Linked DNA regions of Homo sapiens: regions 1 and 3 are each linked to region 2. The links are contacts of gene promoters, found by promoter capture Hi-C in blood cells and fetal thymus (Javierre and others, 2016). All regions are on one chromosome and are shown on one strand. Each heading gives the region's core, a stretch centred on a gene start or on the middle of the fragment in contact. The rest is flanking DNA. Distances are from core to core; before and after follow the strand shown.

What was found. Contacts are between HindIII fragments. The CHiCAGO score rates a contact against its expected background, and 5 or more counts as called.
Region 1: a fragment that was not itself captured here is called in contact with the fragment with the promoter of CLEC2L in region 2 in 1 of 17 cell types (monocytes); the score reaches 7.9 in monocytes.
Region 3: a contact is called between a fragment that was not itself captured here and the fragment with the promoter of CLEC2L in region 2, in 1 of 17 cell types (monocytes). The highest score is 6.3, in monocytes.

What each region holds. Positions count from the first base shown.
Region 1 is chr7:140,124,814-140,128,498 of GRCh38, forward strand. It overlaps KDM7A (lysine demethylase 7A), which reads right to left. Exons shown (of 20, transcript NM_030647.2): 5 at 2,629-2,770; 6 at 1,824-2,010. Among named protein-coding and RNA genes, the nearest start is that of KDM7A, 50 kb to the right of the region's middle. RefSeq lists an enhancer at 553-1,053. The HindIII fragment of the contact is 2,661 bases long and covers 372-3,032 here.
Region 2 is chr7:139,522,284-139,525,651 of GRCh38, forward strand. It overlaps CLEC2L (C-type lectin domain family 2 member L), which reads left to right and starts at 1,402. Exons shown (of 5, transcript NM_001080511.4): 1 at 1,402-1,834. The coding sequence starts at 1,645. The HindIII fragment of the contact is 20,495 bases long and covers 1-3,368 here.
Region 3 is chr7:140,041,167-140,044,426 of GRCh38, forward strand. PARP12 (poly(ADP-ribose) polymerase family member 12) reads right to left here. Exons shown (of 12, transcript NM_022750.4): 6 at 478-673. Among named protein-coding and RNA genes, the nearest start is that of PARP12, 20 kb to the right of the region's middle. The HindIII fragment of the contact is 4,259 bases long and covers 1-3,260 here.

The sequences.
Region 1 (3,685 bases), core at 452-2,951, 600 kb after region 2:
AAGCAAAAGCCATACTTAGGATAGCCTACATTGATGCAATTTCTCAATACAATGATACAAATTAAATTGGATAATTATCAGATTCTTTTAGGTTCAAAAGACATATTTCACACACCTGATCAGTAGCTATTGCCCTTAGTAAACATTTTCATGTTTAAAGCTCCCCCTCCTCAACTGACAAGGAGTCAATAAAGTAGTGTTGAAGAAATAGCTGCAAGACAGGAGGGCAGAGAAGCACAAACATCCCACTGACCTCCTCTCATTGTCAAATAGAGAAGTAAATATGTGTTGACAGGCCCACAGTCATCTCTGCAAGCTTTGCCCTTTCTACTAAGATCCACAGCATAATTATTTTTAAAAACCTATAAATAAGCTTCCTTTAATAAACTAATTCTTTGCTACTTCATGAAGGAAAAAAACAGGAACCCAAGGACCCAGCAACAAATATAGCCCAGAACATTGCTGAGGCACAAGCATTTGATATAGATGAAGACTGACTTTCTACATCAGTACTCTCCAATACAACTTTCTGTGCTGATGGAAATTTTTTGTATCTGTGCTAACCAACACAGTAGCCATTAGCCACATGTGGCTACTGAGCACTTGAAATGTGCCTAGTATAAACGAGGAACTGAATTTTTAATTACATTCCATTTTAATTATTTAAATTTAGTCACACATGGCTAGTGGCAACTGTTTTGAACAATGCAGCTCTAGATAAAGCAAGGTGAATATAAATTGCAAATAACTGGTCTTTTGTTTTGTTTTTTTGAGATAGGGTCTCGCTCTGTTGCCCAGGCTGGAGTGCAATGGTGCAATCACAGCACACTGCGCCCTCAACTTCCTGGGCTCAAGTGATCCTCCTGCCTCAGCCTCTTGAGTAGCTGCGACTACAGGCATGAGCCACCACACCTGGCTAATTTTTTAATTTTTACTTTTAGAGACAGGTTCTTGCTCTGTTGCCCAGGCTGGAGTGCAGTGGAGTGATCACGGCACACTGCAGCCTCAACTTCCTGGGCTCAAGTGATCTTCCTGCCTCAGCCTCTTGAGTAGCTGTGACTACAAGCATGAGCCACCATGCCTGGCTACTTTTTTTATTTTTATTTTTAGAGACAGGATCTCGCTCTGTTGCCCAGGCTGGAATGCAGTGGTGCAATCACAGCACACTGTAGCCTCAACTTCCTGGGCTCAAGTGATCCTCCTGCCTGAGCCTCTTGAGTAGCTGTGACTACAGGAATGAGCCACCATGCCTGGCTAATGTTTTTATTTTTATTTTTAGAGACAGGGTCTCACTATGTTGCTCAGGCTGGTCTTGAACTCCTGGGCTCAAATAATTTTCCCAGCTTGGCCTCCTCTCAAAGCGCTGGGATTATAGGTGTAAGCCACTACACCCAGCCAAGAACTGGTATTTTTATAGGCATTCCTGACTTATCCAACAAGCTATCCTAGCCCAACATTAAGGCCAGAAGCAATTATTACTGTAATTTTGCTCCTTCACAGATATTTAATTCAGGGATTAAAGGATAATTAACTAGGGGAAAAAAAATCAAGAAGAGACAAAAGCCTAAAAGAAACCAACTTAAAAGATGAGGGCAGAAAGTAAATCTAATATAAATTTAAAAGTCATGGCTCTTCCATTATTTGAGATTAAAAAAAAAAATCGTAACGTTTAAAGGCAAAGTGACAGTTCCTGGTTAAAAAGTAAAAAAAAAAAAAAAAACTTCCCCCTTTACAAGTAACATTTACAAGAAATGAATATACCACTGAAAAACTAGGGCTATATGTTTTTGTCAGTGAGAGAACAAAAAATACCCCAATCTTACCCAGAGGACATGGTACCAGACTGAAGTTCCACCGAAGTCAATGTGGAAATCTGTATAGCTGTCTTGAACTCCCATTAAGCAATATTTCTGAACAAATGGCTTGGGAAAGACTGAATCATCTGGCCAATAATTTTCCACCCAGGAAAGTTTTTTGGCTATATCAGGGACCTCCACCAATTCAGACATCCTTTCAAAAAACAAACATACACACACACCCACATCATGCAAATTAAAAATTCTTAAGAATTGTTTTTCTCATCTATTCCCAAACCAAATAATTAAATGGAACTTAAGGTTAACAACAACACTTAAAAGTTTAAAACACATGTTTGTTTGTTTTTGAGACAGAGTCTTGCTCTGTCGCCTAGGCTAGAGTGCAGTGGCGCGATCCTGGCTCACTGCAAACTCCATCCTGCCGGGTTCGAGAGATCTCGTGCCTCAGCCTCTCTGAGTAGCTGGGATTACAGGCATGTGCCACCATGCCCAGCTGATTTTTGTATTTTTAGTAGAGAGGGGGTTACGCCATGTTGGCCAGGCTGGTTTTGAACTCCTGGCCTCAAGCGATCCACTCGCCTTGGCCTCCCAAAATGCTGGGATTAAGGCATAAGCCACTGTGCCCAGCCAAAAGTTTAAAATACATCTTATTTCTAAGTATCTCTGAGTGTCCCAATGCAAAATTTATAACATTGCTACCACTGGACAACTTTAGAAGTCACAACTATGTTTCTTCCTAAAATAAATACATCATTACACTACATTTAGCTAACACTCAGAATGCTAAACCAAAATACCCAGAACTACTCACTTTGTATCTGAAAATTCAAGGCTGATCACATTTAACACTTTTGGTCTGTTAGGATTCATGAAGTATTTAACATAATTGTGAAGTGTCATTTTGCTGTCTGCCTGCCTCGCCACATCAATGACATCTATCACTTTGTCACCACCTGCAGAGAAAAATTACAGTCTTATTATTGGACTTAAGAGTTACATCAGCAGATGCTCTAATCAAAAAATATTTTAACTTGGTATGATAATTAAACCAACTATAAAACTATGTAGTCTAGACAAATATTTTCCCTATACTCTTAATTTCTCAAGTTCAACTGGACCTTTCAGGAAAAAAGGGACATTTTTCAGAGGAAAAGGAAAGCAGTAAGACAGAGCTGCACAATTTACACTGAATATAAAAGTGTATATGGCTTACAAAGCTTTCTGTATACTAATGATATCTTGGTGTACAGCTCATAATGACAAAAAAATACATTATATTGGCATGTAGAAATTGTGCAACACTGTCTGGATTTCAGTTTTCTCAGGCATAAAATGAGGAGACTGACTTTTCCCTTTCACTTTTGTAACACCTAAAATATTCTAAGGCTATCATTTCAAAAAAAAACACATCACTCATTGGGGAATTAGCATGCAAGTTGACCAGGATAATTTCTGCCCTCCTGATACTGTCTTCTAATATTCTCCTTTAAGAAAAAATTAGTGATTGGGAAGCAAAAATCAGTTCACATTAGTACCAGTGTCCGAAGGCCTGAGTTCCAAATTGTGATTAATTTACAGTTTTCGTATAAACCCATGAAGTGGTGTTTACAGACCACTGCACTGCTACACTAGGAAGCATAATTAGTTTGACAATGGACTATGGGATAAGGTAGAATTCAAAATATGGCAATACTTAACCAATCTGAAATAGAAAACAAATAAATGCCATTTTCTTACTTTAATGCAACTTCATATAGGTTAAGAAAGTCTTGCCTTATAGACTTCTTTATCATCAGGAGGCAACACGGTTCTGCTCATAGTATTTAACTGAAGTGCTCTGCAGTACCAAAAAGTTAGCTATCAAGCAG
Region 2 (3,368 bases), core at 152-2,651:
AGAGTGGAGGATGGGAGACCCCTTAGAAGGCTGCTGCTGTGGTCGGGCAAGAGAAGGCATTGGCTTGTACTTGGCCAGTGGCTAGAGGGATGGAGTGCAATGCGCAGACTAAGAGTTTAAAAGGGGCCGGGCGGCCGGGCGCGGTGGCTCACGCCTGTAATCCCAGCACTTTGGGAGGCCGAGGCGGGCGGATCACGAGGTCAGGAGATCGAGACCATCCCGGCTAAAACGGTGAAACCCCGTCTCTACTAAAAATACAAAAAAATTAGCCGGGCGTAGTGGCGGGCGCCTGTAGTCCCAGCTACTTGGGAGGCTGAGGCAGGAGAATGGCGTGAACCCGGGAGGCGGAGCTTGCAGTGAGCCGAGATCCCGCCACTGCACTCCAGCCTGGGCGACAGAGCGAGACTCCGTCTCAAAAAAAAAAAAAAAAAAAAAAAGGGGCCGGGCACGGCAGCTCACGCCTGCAATCCTAGAACTTTGGGAGACCCAGGTGGGAGGATCGCTTGAGCCTGGGAGGCCGAGGCTGTAGTGACACTGCACTCCAGCCTGGGCTACAGAACGAGACCCTGTCTCAAAAAATAAAAATAAAAATATTTTAAAAGGGAGAATTCACAAGAGTCAGTGGCCTATTGGATTTGGGGGAGGGAGCAGGAGGAGCTGGGGATGAGGAACTGAAGATGGAGACAGGAACCAGAGGTTGGGGCTGAGAATGGTGGAGGGGGAAGAGGATCAGGGCTGGAGGCGTGGGGCTTCAGGCGACGCGAGGTCAGCTGAGGCAAGGGGCCAGTGAAGGCTCCGGAGGGAGCCCTGGCCTGGGAGTCAGACACCCGCCAAGCACGCACCTGCCTGGCGCCGCCTTCGGAAATGTCCTTGACCTCAAAATTCCACTTCTCAGCCTCACCTGGGGGCATTGTCAGCTAATAATATGTGAAAGTCCCTGGCGCTTAGTAGGTGCTCAATAAATGTTAATTGAATCTGCAACGTCACTTCGCTTGCTCCTTTAGACTCTACTGTCTCTGTGCTCATCGTTCGGACGTTTCTCTCCTTTATCAAGAGTTTGGGGGTCAAGTCACAGCCCCTACCACCCTCTGCTGTGGCTCCAGGGCAGCCGGGAAGAAAGGCGCTCATCTTCCCTGAGCCTCCCTGCACTGTCCCCGCGAACTTTATTCCCATTTTCACAGATGGTGAGCAGGCGGCTGGGGAGATGGAGCTGAGTTAGAACCAGGTCTCCCGGCTCCAAGACTGCGCTCCCAGCTCGACAGCATCCAGCCTCCAGCCCAGGTGGCGGGGTCGGGGAGCCGGCTGTCCCCGCTCCTCCGCGCCTCCTCCCTCTCCGCCCCTGCCCCGCCCCGCCCGGGTCCACGGCTCCCGGCTCCCGCGCGCCGCCTCGCGCTCCTCCCCAGCCCGGCTGTGCGTGGAGGCTGCGGCTCGGCGGGGCAGGCGCTGAGCGCACCGCGGCGGCACCCGGCGCAGAGGCTCCAGCGCGGGGAGCCGGGCTCAGCCCCGGCCTGCCAGCGCCGCGGTCCTAGCCCACCCGAGGCCGGCCTGGGGGGCCCGCAGGGCGCGCGGAGCGCCGAGTGCGCGTCGGGCTGGGCCCCGCACCCCGGTGCAGGAGCGCGGGCGCGGCGCGGCGGAGCGCCCCGCATGGAGCCGGCCCGGGAGCCCCCCTCGCGGGCCCGGCCGCCGCCGCCCCTCGCCGCGCGCCCCGCGCCCGCCCCCGCCGCCCCCAGGCCGCGTTCGCCCGCAGAGGCTGAGGCCCGCGGCCCCGAGGGGCTGCTGCGGCGATCCGGGTCGGGCTACGAGGGCAGCACCAGCTGGAAGGCGGCCTTGGAGGGTAAGCGCGGAGCGGCCTCCCTCTCCTGGCCCAGGGACCCCTGCCCAGGCCCGACCCGCGACCCGGAGGCGGTCAGAGTCACCTTGGCCGCTGTCCCGGAGGGGAGCGCTGGGAGCGCGGCGCCGGGACGCGGCGGAGTCATTCATTTCAGGGCGGCCAGACGCCGGTTCGTGGGGTGGGGTGGGAGGGAACCGGGGGCCACCGCGAGTCACAGCCTCGACCCCGCCTCTGCTGCGACTCCCTCTCTGACCTTGGAGCGGGCTTCACGCTCTGAGCCTTCGTCTCCTCACGCATGAAGGGGACAAACACTGCCTGACACCCACCAGACAGGCGTGTTGAGAGGGTGGCGGAATCTGTGGTCGTGAACACGCTTCGAGTAAAGTAAGAAAGCTGGAGACCCCAGAGGTGGTGCCCGCCCCTGTGAGAGCCGCGGGGACCCCGTGGTGGTGGGGCATGTGGGGAGGGCAGGGCAGGGCAGGGGTGGAGAATCCAGGAGAGGCTCTTCCTTGCAAGGTCAGGGGTCACACCTACTCCTCCATCAGACTGCCTCAGGGAGGGACCCCTGGCCTGCCTCCGGGGCAGTAACCCAAGTAGAGAATTGATTTCAAGTTCATGAGCTCTTTAAGGAAACTTGTATTAGCTACCGCCGGCGGCGTGTGGTGTGGGAGATGCAGGAGTTGGTGAGAGGGTGGCTGGCCCTTTGGGTGCTTCTCAGGGTGCTCCTGGCACCCTGAATCCAAGGACAAGGAGGACCTGGGCAGCATTAACTAGGGAAGCCTGGAGCCTGGATCACCCATCCTTAGGGAGGCAGTGTCAGAAAAGGAGGGCTTCCCAGGAGTAGGTGACCTCTTAGCAGGCGTGGAGACAGAGGGGAAGGTGTTCCAGACCCAGAGCATGACGTATCCCAGGCCAGGTGGTCAGAGCTACTCTGTGCCACGTGGGAACTGAGCCCTGGAGTACTGAGATGGGGCAGGGTGGAGAGAGACGGGCCTGAAGGACCCAGACGGTGAAGGGCCAGCCAGGCCTTGCCCAGGAGCTTGGACTTTGTTCTGAAGGGGCTACTGAGGGGTGGAGATGGTGGGCTTGCCCTTGGAAGACTGGTGGTGGCCCAGAGGGGTGGGACCCAGGCTCGAGGTCAGGGAGGGGGTGGGGCAGTGGACCAGGAGGGACATAACCAGCAGCTGGGCCAAGGCAGGTCATGGGGCTGCTGAGGATGGCGAGGTGGGGATGGTAATGCCAGCCTTCTGCACAAAGGCTATGGGCCAGGGGACGTGCACTGTCCGAGGAAGGGCTGTGCAGACTCTGAAGCTGGACCACCAGACAGTGGCAGGGACAGAGGAGGCGAAGATGTTGCGTCACCAAGGAGAAGAGCTGTAGCAGAGCTGTGGGTTGTGAAGAGTTGTGTGGAATGGATGGAGGTGGTCAGACACCCCCCCGTGACGCTGTCTCCGGCTTTACTGTTGGAGTGGCCCTGTGTTCCCACGCTTCACTCCTGCCAAAGCTATTTCTTGAAGTTGTTCCCTCCTCTTGCCTG
Region 3 (3,260 bases), core at 389-2,888, 520 kb after region 2:
CTTGGATTCCAAACCTATACATGATATAAATCAATTTTCTTATATTTGCCTACCTTCTGTAAAGTTGCAGAAATGGCAGACAACCAGTTTGAAAAGCCTTTACCTCTATATCACAGCTACACAAACACACTTGCACACATAGGCACCAGCTGTGGGGTTAAGTTACCTGTTCAACAAGAGAAACATCTTTCTATCCCATTTAATAAAACCAATGAAGAAACTTGATCTCACTACAAATTTGTCATTCAGTTCTCATGAGCCAACAGATGGAAGCTCTTCAAAGATGAAAGCTCATACAAATAAATTCCAACTTATCTAGTTTTGCCATAATTCTCCCAAAGCAAGTGAGCCACACTGGCACCTGGGGATCCTCAGCTCTCTCAAGGATGCCCCTGGCAACAATATGGGGGCTCTTATTTGGCTCCTCTCTTACAGATCCTCAGGACAAAACATTCACCCTCTTTCCATCACACTTACCTGTCTTCCATATTCCTGCCAAGAACCAAACTCATCACTCCAGTACCAAATCCAGTCAGTGGTGAGGATGAAGTGTGGAGGTTTGGTGACAGAGGAGGCCGTGGAGAGGCGGCGAGCCTGGGTAGCACCGTAAGTCATGGCGTTAAAGTTCAGACAATGAGAGTGAAAGGTACTGGCTGACTCAGAGCACAGGATCCTACAGAAGAAAAACAGCAGCAGACTGAAAATCCCACCAGCCAAGCAGACACAGGTCCCTCAGCTTGAGAACATATAGCTGGGAGATGCGAATAGTAAATGTGGCATGCACATTTTAGAAAAAGTTCCCAGAGGTAGAGGAAACTGCTTTTTCAGATCAGTTTTGAGGTATAAAAATATCAAAATCAAGATAATGTGGGAGACTAGTTATGACGAAAATTCCTCTCAGTACAAAATGCCGAAGATGCTGGTGAAATCATTCTTTTTTAAAATTCACTGCTGAGCTGGCAAGAAAGGGAAGTCCTCAGAAGCCAAAAATAACAATAGTTAACATATACTGAGTGTTTACTGTGTGAGCCAGACCCTGCATTAAGCACTTTATATGTATTAGGCGATGACATTTTCACAACCCTATGAGGTTGAGACTATTATCTCCACTTCACAGACGGGAAAACAGAAGCTCAGGAAGGTGAAGAAACCTGTTCAAGGTCAAACAGCTAGTCAGCGGGCGAGCTGGGCTTTCAGGTGGGCAGGTGGGCTGCACAGCCTGCACCTGAGCCACCAGGACACGCTCCCTTTCTAAACGCAGTACTGCCTAAAGACCAAAGGAAGGTACGAAACTGGAGAGCGGAGAGGAGGGCGAGAGCCAGCAGCTATCCCAGGGCAGTATCGATGAGTAACGACAGAGAGCCTGGGCTTTGGCCGCAAAAGGGAAGCAGGAAACAAATGTAGGGTCTGAGTACGGCAGGAGGCTGAATCTCAAAAGAGATACCTCTGCGTAAAACCAGGACCCTAAAAGATGACCCACCTTAGTAAAGGGGGACTGGAGAGGGGACTTGCCTTGCAAAGACATCTGGCAAGGAAACCTGCCTGTATTAATGTTGGTTCTGGATAAAGGAGGAAAAAATTCCTCTGAGAACTCATAAACCACTCAAGCCTCACAGAAGTTTTAGACTGATTCACATTTTGGGAGAATTAGCTGCAAAGACCACCCAGGGTAGCAGTTCTCAGAGAAGCAAACACACATCCCCTCTGGAGAAATTCACCTTCAACTCAGGCCTCAAAAGAATTTCTTGGCCGGGCATGGTGGCTCACGCCTGTAATCCCAGCACTTTGGGAGGCCAAGGCAGGTGGATCATGAGGTCAGGAGATCGAGACCATCCTGGCTAACACAGTGAAACCCCGTCTCTACTAAAAATACAAAAACTAGCCGGGAGTGGTGGCGGGCACCTGTAGTCCCAGCTACTCAGGAGGCTGAGGCAGGAGAATGGCATGAACCCAGGAGGCGGAGCTTGCAGTGAGCTGAGACCGCACCACTGCGCTCCAACTTGGGCGACAGAGTGAGACTCCATCTCAAAAAAAAAGAATTTCCAAAGAAATTTCCATCAAATCAAACATGAGCTCAAAATCGATCACAAAATGTGGAAACAAAGACACTATGAGCAAAAGTTAACAAAAACAAAATCAGACCACCCTGAACTATAAACATTAGTATTCTCAGATGCAGATATACGTGATATGTTTTTTAAAAAGGAATTGAGCATCAAAAGTATGAGTAAGAATCAAGAGACTATAAAAACTGACTGGGTAAATTTAAGGAAAAAAACAGAACTTTTACTATTCATTATTCTTTTCTTTCTCCTCCACTCCCTCCAAAACTTTTTTTCTTTTCCTTTTTTACTACTTTTTTTTAATTTTTTATTTTTTGAGACAGAGTCTCACCCTGTCACCCAGGCTGGAGTGCAGTGGCATCATCTCAGCTCATCGTGATCTCCGCCTCCCGGATTCAAGCGATTCTCCTGTCTCACCCTCCCGAGGAGTAGCTGGGATTACAGGCATGCACCACCACGCCCAGCTAATTTTTGTATTTTTTTGTGCAGACAGAGTTTCACCATGTTGGCCAGGCTGGTCTTGAACTCCTGGCCTCAAGCCATCCGCCCTCCTCAGCCTCCCAAAGTGCTGGGATTACACGCGTGAGCCACTGCTCCCGACCTTAGAACTTTTAAACATAATTAAATTAACTGAAATTTAAAAATCATACTTCGATGGGACACACTGCATCTCAGAAGAGTCTGAACTAATGAACTGAGAGCCTGAGAGGAAGAAATGTGGCAGAGTTTAGAAAGAGAATAAAAGAGAAGTTAGAAGACATAAAAGATAAAGTGAGAAGACTTCACCATATATCTAATGAGAATTCCAGAGAAGGAATACTTAAGGAGATCATGGCTGAGGAAATCAGAAAGCACAGCAAAATATGAGTAGCATAAATTTTTTTAAATCCACACACAGATTTTAGTGAAACTGCACAGCACCAAAGAATGACAAGATATTAAAAACAGCCAGAGAGAAAAAAACAGACTATCTATTATACTGGATTGAATTGTGTCCCCAAGAAGATATGCTGAAGGTCTAATCCCTGGTACCCATGAATGCGATCTTATTTGGAAATAGGGTCTTTGCAGATATAATCAAGTTAAGATGAGGTCATATTGGATTCGGGTGGGCCCTAATCCAAAACTGATGTCCTTTTAAGACGAGGGAAATTTGAACACAGACACATGGGGAAATGCCTGTGACAATGGAGGCTG